2 separate regions of the Homo sapiens genome follow, and region 1 is linked to region 2. The links are contacts of gene promoters, found by promoter capture Hi-C in human tissues and cell types (Jung and others, 2019). All regions are on one chromosome and are shown on one strand. The core of a region is centred on a gene start or on the middle of the fragment in contact, and the rest is flanking DNA. Distances in the headings are between cores, read along the strand shown.

Region 1 (4,613 bases), core at 1,518-4,017, 1.1 Mb before region 2:
GCAAGCTCTGCCTCCTGGGTTCACGCCATTCTCCTGCCTCAGCCTCCCGAGTAGCTGGGACTACAGGCGCCTGCCACCATGCCCGGCTAATTTTTTGTATTTTTTAGTAGAGACAGGGTTTCACCGTGTTAGCCAGGATGGTCTCGATCTCCTGACCTCGTGATCCGCCCGCCTCGGTCTCCCAAAGTGCTGGGATTACAGGTGTGAACCACCGTGCCCAGCCTGTGCCTGCTACTCTAAGGTTCCGCTTTCATGGTTCAAATAAGAGTTCAGTTTTTGTTTGCCTGTTTTGAGATGGAGTTGTGTTCTTGTTCCCCAGGCTGGAGTGCAATGGCGCGTTCTCGGCTTACTGCAACCTCCGCCTCCCAGGTTCAAGTGATTTTCCTGCCTCAGCCTCCTGAGTAGCTGGTTCTTAAGAGCACCATGGAAGTTCTGTGTTGTCATCCTCATACTGTAGACAACTAGCCCCTCCTTGGCAGAGTTTGGAAGACAGCTCAGGAGGGATTCCCATTAGCAATCACTTGAAACTCGCCTGCAGTTCTGCCTGCTTCCCACTTGGAGGCTCATGACTTTTTTCCTTTGTCATTATGCAAGAATGGGGTTTGGAATATAGGATCAGAGTACAACCACTTTCCAAAGTTGTAGTTTAAAAATTATCCTTTGCCTGTTTGGATGGGAACATTCTAGTATTGCCTGTTCAATATATGTAATCAAACCCACCAAAAAATCCAACCACTGTTCCTACTCCGGAACTTGGGGTTTATCAGACTTGAGAAGGGAAAGCAGAGAGGAGTGGTTGGGCCGATAACTAGGAGTGGAGAAAATTGATGTCAAGGACATTGAAATGGCATCTGTTTTTACCCAGGCTAATTACATGTGTAATGAATGGCTGATGAACCATTATTAATTTCAAGCAAATCTACAGTTTGCTCTTGGGAAAAGAGCTCTAGTGATACAGATAACTTCCTGTGATGAGCCGATTCTGAATCTCTGCACCCTCTTTATTCCCATGTAAATGAGCACATTCTTAGTCTCCACACTATCTAAAATGATTGTAGGGGCAAAATGAGAGAGGGAAGCATTTAGGCAAAAACAAGGGGGTTATTTTATGCATAAACATCCATTCTTTGGGGCTCCCATCATTTGTGCCAGGGACAGAAGCATCCTTTCTCTTCCATCACCCGTAATCAGTGCTCCCAGCTGGCAGCCTGGCACTGGAGCCTTCATCTCAGTGCCAGTGCAATAAAGGAGTGGTCTGTGGGAGGCTGTTTCTGTATTAGGTATAACATTGTGCTAAGAAAAACAGCCAACTACTGATTTCATGTCCGTTTCCCTATGGGAAATTACTGGCCATGGAAGGAGAATATGGTTGGTTTTTCCTGGGCAGTCCCCGGAACTTAGAAAGCCATTTCTCCCCAGTCTTGACCTCCTGCCTGCTTACTCCTACCCATGGGTTGCACACAGACTCCCCTGTAGCCCAGTGCTTGTTACCAGTTGCTGGCCAGCAACAGCCCAGGGGGATGGCAACACCCACCTAGCCGTCTGCCAAGCCAGGAGGTCAGCACATGAGCACACAGTGGTGTCTGCCCTCTAGGCCAAGGTGCACAGTGTTAGGAGCCTCTTGCTCCACTCTCCAGATCAGCCTGGAAACCAGAGCTTCCCTCGTCTTAGACAAACAGATGGCCGTGGGCGATGCAGAGCCCTGAACTGCTGAGGGTGCTCCTTCCATTCTCGCCCTTCCCCAAAAAACATACACCAAACTTACCCCCAATCACAGCATCTGAGACCACAAAGCCCCACGGACACAGCTGCCCCGGGTACTGCCTGCCTTCCCCTTTTCTGGCCTCTGCAAACTAGCCATTCACCTGATGAAGCCCCTGGGGCAGTACCTTGGAAACCCCTGAGAGGAGGAGTTGAAGGAGGCTCAAAGCCTTTCAAGGACAGTGTGCACTCTGCCTGCCTCCTATTCTCTCCTGTCCTCTTAAGCCCAGAGTCTACAACAAAATTGTGTACCGCAATTCTCAGAGCTCTCTAACTTTAACCTTTCCCACCTTCCCTAGAACACATTTTTGGGTGGGGATCATCTGAGAGGCCCATGGATGAGTCCCCAAGATGACCTCTGTGGGTGACCAAGACAATCTTGTCTTTTGAGGCACCTGGAGTCTCTCATCCTTTTTTGAGCTGGGCTGTCCTCAAAGCAGGCCCTTACCTCTTATGTGGCCTCATCTTTAGAGGTGGGAAGTGGGCCCACATCCCCCACCCCAGCCCTGCAGTGGAGCTAGCGTGGGCCTGCTGGAGGACAGAACTGTGGAACAGGGTCCTGTGAGGATATGTGGCAGGGTTGGCGGGGGGATAGGGGGTCATGGAGGAGCCTACCTCTGAAAAGCATTCCCCTAGCTGCTACTGAAGCTAAATACAATTTATTTCATGCTGGGGGACAGAAAGGAGCAAGGGAGAGCAGTCACCTGCTCCTTATCTGGGCTATTTTCTTAGCAGACCTCAAAATGAGACCATGGTGGGAAGCTGGGCTGGGGCCAAGGGAAGAAGCTTGCCAGCACTGTCAGCCGATGAGCCCAGGAGAAAAAGCTGGGCCTAGTCTCTGCCCCATTCCTGTTCCACACCTGTCTGTACCCCTGTCTCTCCTTTCCCTGGCTCTGCCAGACTCTCTATCTCCCTGGGCGCCAGCCTCCCCACCCACCCCTGGAGGGCGGGGCTTGGCTGCACCCACGTGTGGTGGAGTTAAATGCTCCTAGCCGGCAGAGGAGCTAGGGAGTGTGGCACTGAGCCGGCTCAGGCAGAGACGCGGCACCATGGCTAGCAAGAAAGTCTGCATTGTAGGCTCCGGGAACTGGTAAGCAGCTCTGTCAAGTGATATGGGGGAAGGGTAGGCCCCCCAAGACAGAGGTGGGTAGGAGGCAGAATGGGTGGGAAAGGCCCTCAGGTTCCTGTTCAGCCCCTGCTGCTATCTTCTATCATAGCAGCACAGGACAGACGGTGCCCGGCCCTCTCCTGACCCCCGCCCTCCTGGGCAGCTGCACCTGTTCACCATGGGAAGGCGTCTCCAGAGCTCTCTATGTGAAGAGCCGCTTGAGTTTGGGGGTGGGAAGATGAGAAGTGGGGCTCCCTTCTCTAGTAGCAAAGGGTGAGGAGACTGAGTCTCCTTTCTACTGCCAGGTCACTGGGGACTATTTGTCATGGGAGTGGAGGTGATAAGGAAGGTAGGTAGGAGTGAACAGCCTGGGGGGCTGCTGTGAGATCCTGAGGTGGGGCGCTGCCCCAACTCCTGCCACTGTTCCCTCCTCCTGTACTTTCCTGTGCTCCCCCTCCCACCAGGGGCTCAGCCATCGCCAAGATCGTGGGTGGCAATGCAGCCCAGCTGGCACAGTTTGACCCACGGGTGACCATGTGGGTATTTGAGGAAGACATTGGAGGCAAAAAGCTGACTGAGATCATCAACACGCAGCATGAGAATGTCAAATACCTGCCAGGGCACAAGTTGCCCCCAAATGTGGTGAGCCCCAACACCCTGCGAAGAACAGGGAGAGGAAGGGAGGGCCAGGAGTTGGAGCCGACCTTACTCAACAGGTGCCTCCTGCTGAGAGGGCCGCTTCAGGTGCAGCAGGACTTGGGAAGGTCTCAGGAGGGCTGCTCTGGGCCCTTTCCTGAGGACTGAGGAGAACCTATGCTTTCCCCTCACAGGCTCCCAGGCGGGTGGGTGGGGAAGGGATGGGAGAACAAGTTGGTCTCCATGGCAGCCAAAGACTGGGCTCCCAGACTTGGGGTCCAGTAGTGCCTGCCTCCGGCACTAATCCTGTTACTCATTCACTGAGTGAGTAGCCGACTTGGAGGCTGCTCCTTGGACTTACGGTCTTTGGTCAAATCCACGTGGCTCTCCCCACCTGGAAAGGGGAAGCAGGGAAGAGAGCAGAAAGGCTGGGGCTCCCCCTTCCCAGCTGGGGTTCCTGAGGAGCTGGGTGATGAAATCTTATTTGAGCTCTTTCTTTTGCCAAGCCCAGGCTGCTTTTGGCCTCCCGCACTGTCCCACAGCCAAGGGATAGGAGAGTGCTGGGATGAGGTTTCCAGGAGTCCTCAAGAGCCCAGGACAGCTGGAGGGAGACAGAGTGGTAGCTGGGGGGAGGGAGTAGAGTGTCTTATTCCTCCAAGTTCAGTCCTTCTAGATTCAGTCCCAAACAAGCCTTCCTGCTCCCCTACCAGCCTCACTCTTTGGCTCCCAGATCTCCTGAATAGGGTTCCACAGGGGCTAGGGGAGGTCTGCCAGGCCCGCGAGCACTTGGTCACCCCCACAGGTGGCTGTCCCAGATGTGGTCCAGGCTGCAGAGGATGCTGACATCCTGATCTTTGTGGTGCCCCATCAGTTCATCGGCAAGATCTGTGACCAGCTCAAGGGCCATCTGAAGGCAAACGCCACTGGCATATCTCTTATTAAGGTGCCAGGGACACCTTCATGTGGATGGGGGAGGGTGCGGCTCACTGTTGTGGGGTTCAGGGTGGGTGAAGCAAGGAGAACAGAAAATGGCAGACGCAGGCCAAGAGTTTGCTGGAGAAAAGAGAGGCAGTTGGCTCTGGAGAGGCTTAGGAAAGCAGTGAGGTGC
Region 2 (4,569 bases), core at 1,221-3,720:
CTCTTTCATGCCCTCCCCCTCTATAAGCCTTCTCACCTCTAGGCCTTTGCATAAGCAGTTCCCTCTTCCAGGAACCCTCTTCACTTGCTTAACCTGCTCTCACCCTTCAGATTTCATCTCAGACATCACTTGCATCAGGAAACCTTCCCTGACTACATCAGAATAGAGTAGGTGCCTCACCTATGTGTTCTCCTCACACTCCATGCTGTCTTTATGTCAGCACTAATCATATTATGTGTTCACTTTTCTGTCTCTCCCATTAGGTAGACCATAAATTCCATGAGAGTATGGACTATGCCTGTCTCTTCATTATTATTTCCCTAGTGCCTGTCACAGGGCCTGGCACATAATAGGTGCTCAAAAAATATTTGTTAAATTAATGTAAGAAAGAATGTTTGATAAATGACCAAATAAACATCTTCATCTCATTGGGGAATCTACGAGAATGAAGAAAATGCCAAAGTTTGATCCTGTTCAAGAAAGTAGCTAATTACTACTACTTTTTTTTGTAGAGATGAAGTCTCACTATGCTGCCTAGGCTGGTTCTGAACTCCTGGCTCAAGCGATCCTCCTGCCTAGGCTGCCCAAAGTGTTGGGATTACAGGTGTGAGCTGTTGCACCCAGCCACCATTTACTTCTTAATTCCACCTGCCAGAGAAAGCACTGGCCTGCAACTCTTTCATTTTTGTTAGTAATCTCATTTGGCTCTGCCCTGGTTTTCCCAATGCCCAGGTCCCACTGTGACAAGCAAAATACCCAACAACCTGTAAAGTAGGCCTGACCAATCTGAGGGCAGTTTACATGAGCAGGAGGTAGGCCCAGGAGAGTTCCTGGGTCCTAAGAGTTAACCCTTTAATCATTGGACAATGGAGGTGGCAAGATCGCTTGAGGCTGGAAATTCAAGACCAGCCTGGCCAACACAGGGAGACCCCATCTCTGTATTAAAAAATGAATAGCACGTGCCTGTAATCCCAGCTAGTCGGGAGGCTGAGGCAGGAGAATCGCTTAGAACCCTGGAGGCGGAGGTTGCAGTGAGCTGAGATTGCGCCACTGCACTCCAGCCTGGCGACAGACCAAGCCTCTGTCTCAAAAATAAATAAATAAATAAATAAATAAATAAATAAATAAATAAATAAATAAAAATAAGGCTCGGCGCAGTGGCTTATGCCTGTAATCCCAGAACCTTGGGAGGCCGAGGCAGGTGGATCACCTGAGGTCAGGAGTTCGAGACCAGCCTGGCCAACATGGTGAAACCCCGTCTCTACTAAAAAATACAAAATTTGCCGGTCGTGGTGGCGGGCACCTGTAATCCCAGCTATTCGGGAGGCTGAGGCAGGAGAATTGCTTGAACCCAGGAGGCGGAGGTTGCAGTGAACCGAGATCATGCCACTGCACTCCAGCCTGGGCGACAGAGCAAGACTCCATCTCAAAAAAAAAAAAAAAAAAAAAAAGAAAAGAAAAAATTAAAACTTTTTTTAGAAAGAAAGAAAACCAGCCTGGCCAACATAGTGAAACCCCGTCTCTACTAAAAATACAAAAATTAGCCAGGAATGGTGGCGCACGCCTGTAGGCCCAGCTACTCAGGAAGCTGAGGCAGGAGAATTGCCTGAACCCGGGAGGTGGAGGCTGTGGTGAGATCGCCCCACTGCACTCTAGCCTGGGCAAGCGAGCAAGACTCCGTCTCAAAAAAAAAAGAAAAAGAAAAGAAAACACTTAATCGCTGCCCTAAAGGATGCCATCTTTGCCCTTAAGGATAATTAGGTTAGAAAGAGAAGCCATACATAGAGAAAAATAGAGGTACCATACAGGTCACCTGCAACAGGTGCTAAAAAAAGGAAAGGGCCACAAACACTCCATGGGTAGTGCAGTTATGTCAGTTTCAGTGCCAGGTGTTGCGTACAGCACGGAAAACATAACCCCTTCCTGTACGTGAGAAAGGCAACGACTGTCCTGGGGAAGACAGGGCAGCGAAGATTCCAGTGCAGGTCTCATTCAGGAAAGGATACATGTGAGCTGGAGTGGCAAAATAAATTTTAACAGAGCTGAAGCTTAAGTTGGGCTTGGTGGGGAGGGACGCATGATAAACTAAGGTGTGGGGAGCCGATTTCAGGCAGTGCGACAAATTTGCAGAAATCTAAGCCCCTCGTGGAAGGTTGCCAAGGTGAGGTGACCTTGAGTGAATGCGTGTAGGTGGAAAAAGGTTCCGGGGAATGCTTGCATCGTTCTGCATCCGAGCGTCCAACAGAGAAAAGATCCTGTTTCCAGACAATACCTGCATTTGGTTTTTCTCCAGCTGAGGGACACCGGTAGGGGGGGGGAGGACAGAAACGAGCAGGGGGTGGGGCCAAGGCGAGTGGGCGGGACCGCGCGGACCCTCCCGCGGCCGACTGGAGGCCCGGAGCAGGGGCGGAGTTTCCGGCGGCAGCGCCACTCGGGCGTCGGGTGACGCTAGGCGGACGGACCATCATGTGACACGGAAGTAGCTCCGAACAGGAAGAGGACGAAAAAAATAACCGTCCGCGACGCCGAGACAAACCGGACCCGCAACCACCATGAACAGCAAAGGCAAGGACCGAGGGTGGCAGAGGCCGTCGGGGGGAGTACTGCTGGCCCAGAGCGAGCGGATTCGGAGCCCAGGGTCACCAAACGCCAGGTTTGGGGTGGGCTGCGCCATGCTCCTTGGCCGGCTGCAGTCCAGGGCGCTGCGCCTGACGCCTTCGTCATACCCAAATTACGGCAGCTTGCTGCCTCCAGGCCCTTTCCTCCGTAAACTCTGTGGCGCAGTTTGGAGCTGCGGGCTCGGGTGGTGGGGGGGCTTGACATGATGGGCATCCGCAGGAGCAAATAGAGCGCTAGCGCAGGCATTCGCGTAGGCCAATGGAGAGCCGGCGGAGGCGGGGCGCCGCGCTCCGGAACCCCCAGCGGGGCCGAACTTAACTACTGAATTGCTGGAGTTGGTTCGTGGGCCGGGGCCTGTGAGGTCTCTTTTCCTTCCCTTCGCACCCCCTCGCCCTTCGCTGACGGGATCAGAACTTCTCCCCTTTTCTGTGGTTGTACCAGTGTGTCTGTCGGAACATGATTCCCATAACGCAGGAATAGGTTGAGGGGGTAAAAAAGGAATAGAAAAAAAAAAAAAAAAAAGGCCGAGCGAGGTTGCTCACGCCTGTAATCCCAGCAGTTTGGGAGGTCGAGGCGGGCGGATCACCTGAGGTCAAGAGTTCGAGACCAGCCTGGCCAACGTGGTGAAACCCCGTCTCTATTAAAAAATACAAAAATCAGCTGGGCGTGGTGGCGGGCGCCTGTAATCCCAGCTACTCGGGAGGCTGGGGTAGGAGAATTGCTTGAACCCAGGAGACGGAGGTTGCAGTGAGCCGAGATCGCGCCACTGCACTCCAGCCTGGGCAAAAGAGCGAGACTCCGTCTCAGAACAAACAAAAAACCAAACCTGATCCCCCGCTTTTCCAGTGAGGATATTCCTCCTCACCCCTCAGCCCTGCACCCTTTTCCCAGTCTCACGGTTCACTTCCATCATTCACACCCTTTGTTTGGAAGTCGACCTTGAATAGTAATCTGTAAGGAAAATCAGAACTGCTGTTACCCACGAAGTCTGGGCTGGTTGTAGACAGGCTGTGGAGACTACCTAGAGCAGAGGCACCCTTGATAAGCCAGAACAGCAGCAGGCCAGAACCCCAGACCTGTCCTGCATTCCGGAGGGAACTTGGGCCCAGGTAGACTTAACCCCTTACTTCGGTATGTTAGTAGGAGCAGTGAGCAGTGCCTTTCTTGTCTCGTTAGAATCCAGCACCTTCCATTTTAAGGGTGCAAAGACAATGCATATTTTCTTAGTTCCAGGAATCAGGCCCTCTGGGGCAGACTATTTGCAAATCCCCTTCTGCTTGCTCCCACTAAGTTAGCTACCCGATATGACCTGCCTCATTTTGGTAGCTCTGTGTAGTAGGCAACCTTCATTTTTTTCTTGTCTTTCAGGTCAATATCCAACACAGCCAACCTACCCTGTGCAGCCTCCTGGGAATCCAGTATACCCTCAGACCTTGCATCTTCCTCAGGCTCCACCCTATACCGATGCTCCACCTGCCTACTCAGAGGTGCTTCCAGTTTGCCAGATTTGAACTAGCTGGGAATACTCTTAGGGTGGTCCTTTAGTCCTTAGCTAAATCTGACTTCACATATTTACTCTTCACAAATGCTAACATGAATAATCTAAAACACTATATAATTTGGCAATTTTTGTCGGAGTTGAAAGTGCATTATTTGATGATTTTGTGTTATTTGGCACAGGCTAAGGTGCAGAAGATGAATTTGCGTTCTGTGAGCCCAACATTAGCTATAGCAGAAAGTGATCCAGGAGAATATTGAAGGCCAGTGGAAAGGCAACTTGTATAATCTTACAAAAAGTATAACCTGCATAAGGAGAATTAAGAATTAGCTCATTAAAGAGATCTCAAATAGGAATGTCATAAAGTAACATTTTGCCTTCTCTTCTGCCTCTTCTAGCTCTATCGTCCGAGCTTTGTGCACCCAGGGGCTGCCACAGTCCCCACCATGTCA

What was found. The method cuts DNA at HindIII sites, captures the fragments that hold promoters and counts their contacts. A contact is called where the count stands out against the background at its distance.
Region 1: the fragment with the promoter of GPD1 here is called in contact with the fragment with the promoter of DAZAP2 in region 2 in 1 of the 25 tissues and cell types used here (liver).

The regions. Positions count from the first base shown.
Region 1 is chr12:50,101,241-50,105,853 of GRCh38, forward strand. It overlaps GPD1 (glycerol-3-phosphate dehydrogenase 1), which reads left to right and starts at 2,768. Exons shown (of 8, transcript NM_005276.4): 1 at 2,768-2,851; 2 at 3,334-3,511; 3 at 4,308-4,448. The coding sequence starts at 2,811. RefSeq lists an enhancer at 1,778-1,827. The HindIII fragment of the contact is 8,009 bases long and covers 696-4,613 here.
Region 2 is chr12:51,236,356-51,240,924 of GRCh38, forward strand. It overlaps DAZAP2 (DAZ associated protein 2), which reads left to right and starts at 2,471. Exons shown (of 4, transcript NM_014764.4): 1 at 2,471-2,565; 2 at 3,988-4,106; 3 at 4,516-4,569. The coding sequence starts at 2,553. RefSeq lists enhancers at 1,521-2,158, 2,250-2,544, 2,468-2,717, 3,434-4,070 and a silencer at 2,268-2,377. The HindIII fragment of the contact is 10,606 bases long and covers 1-4,513 here.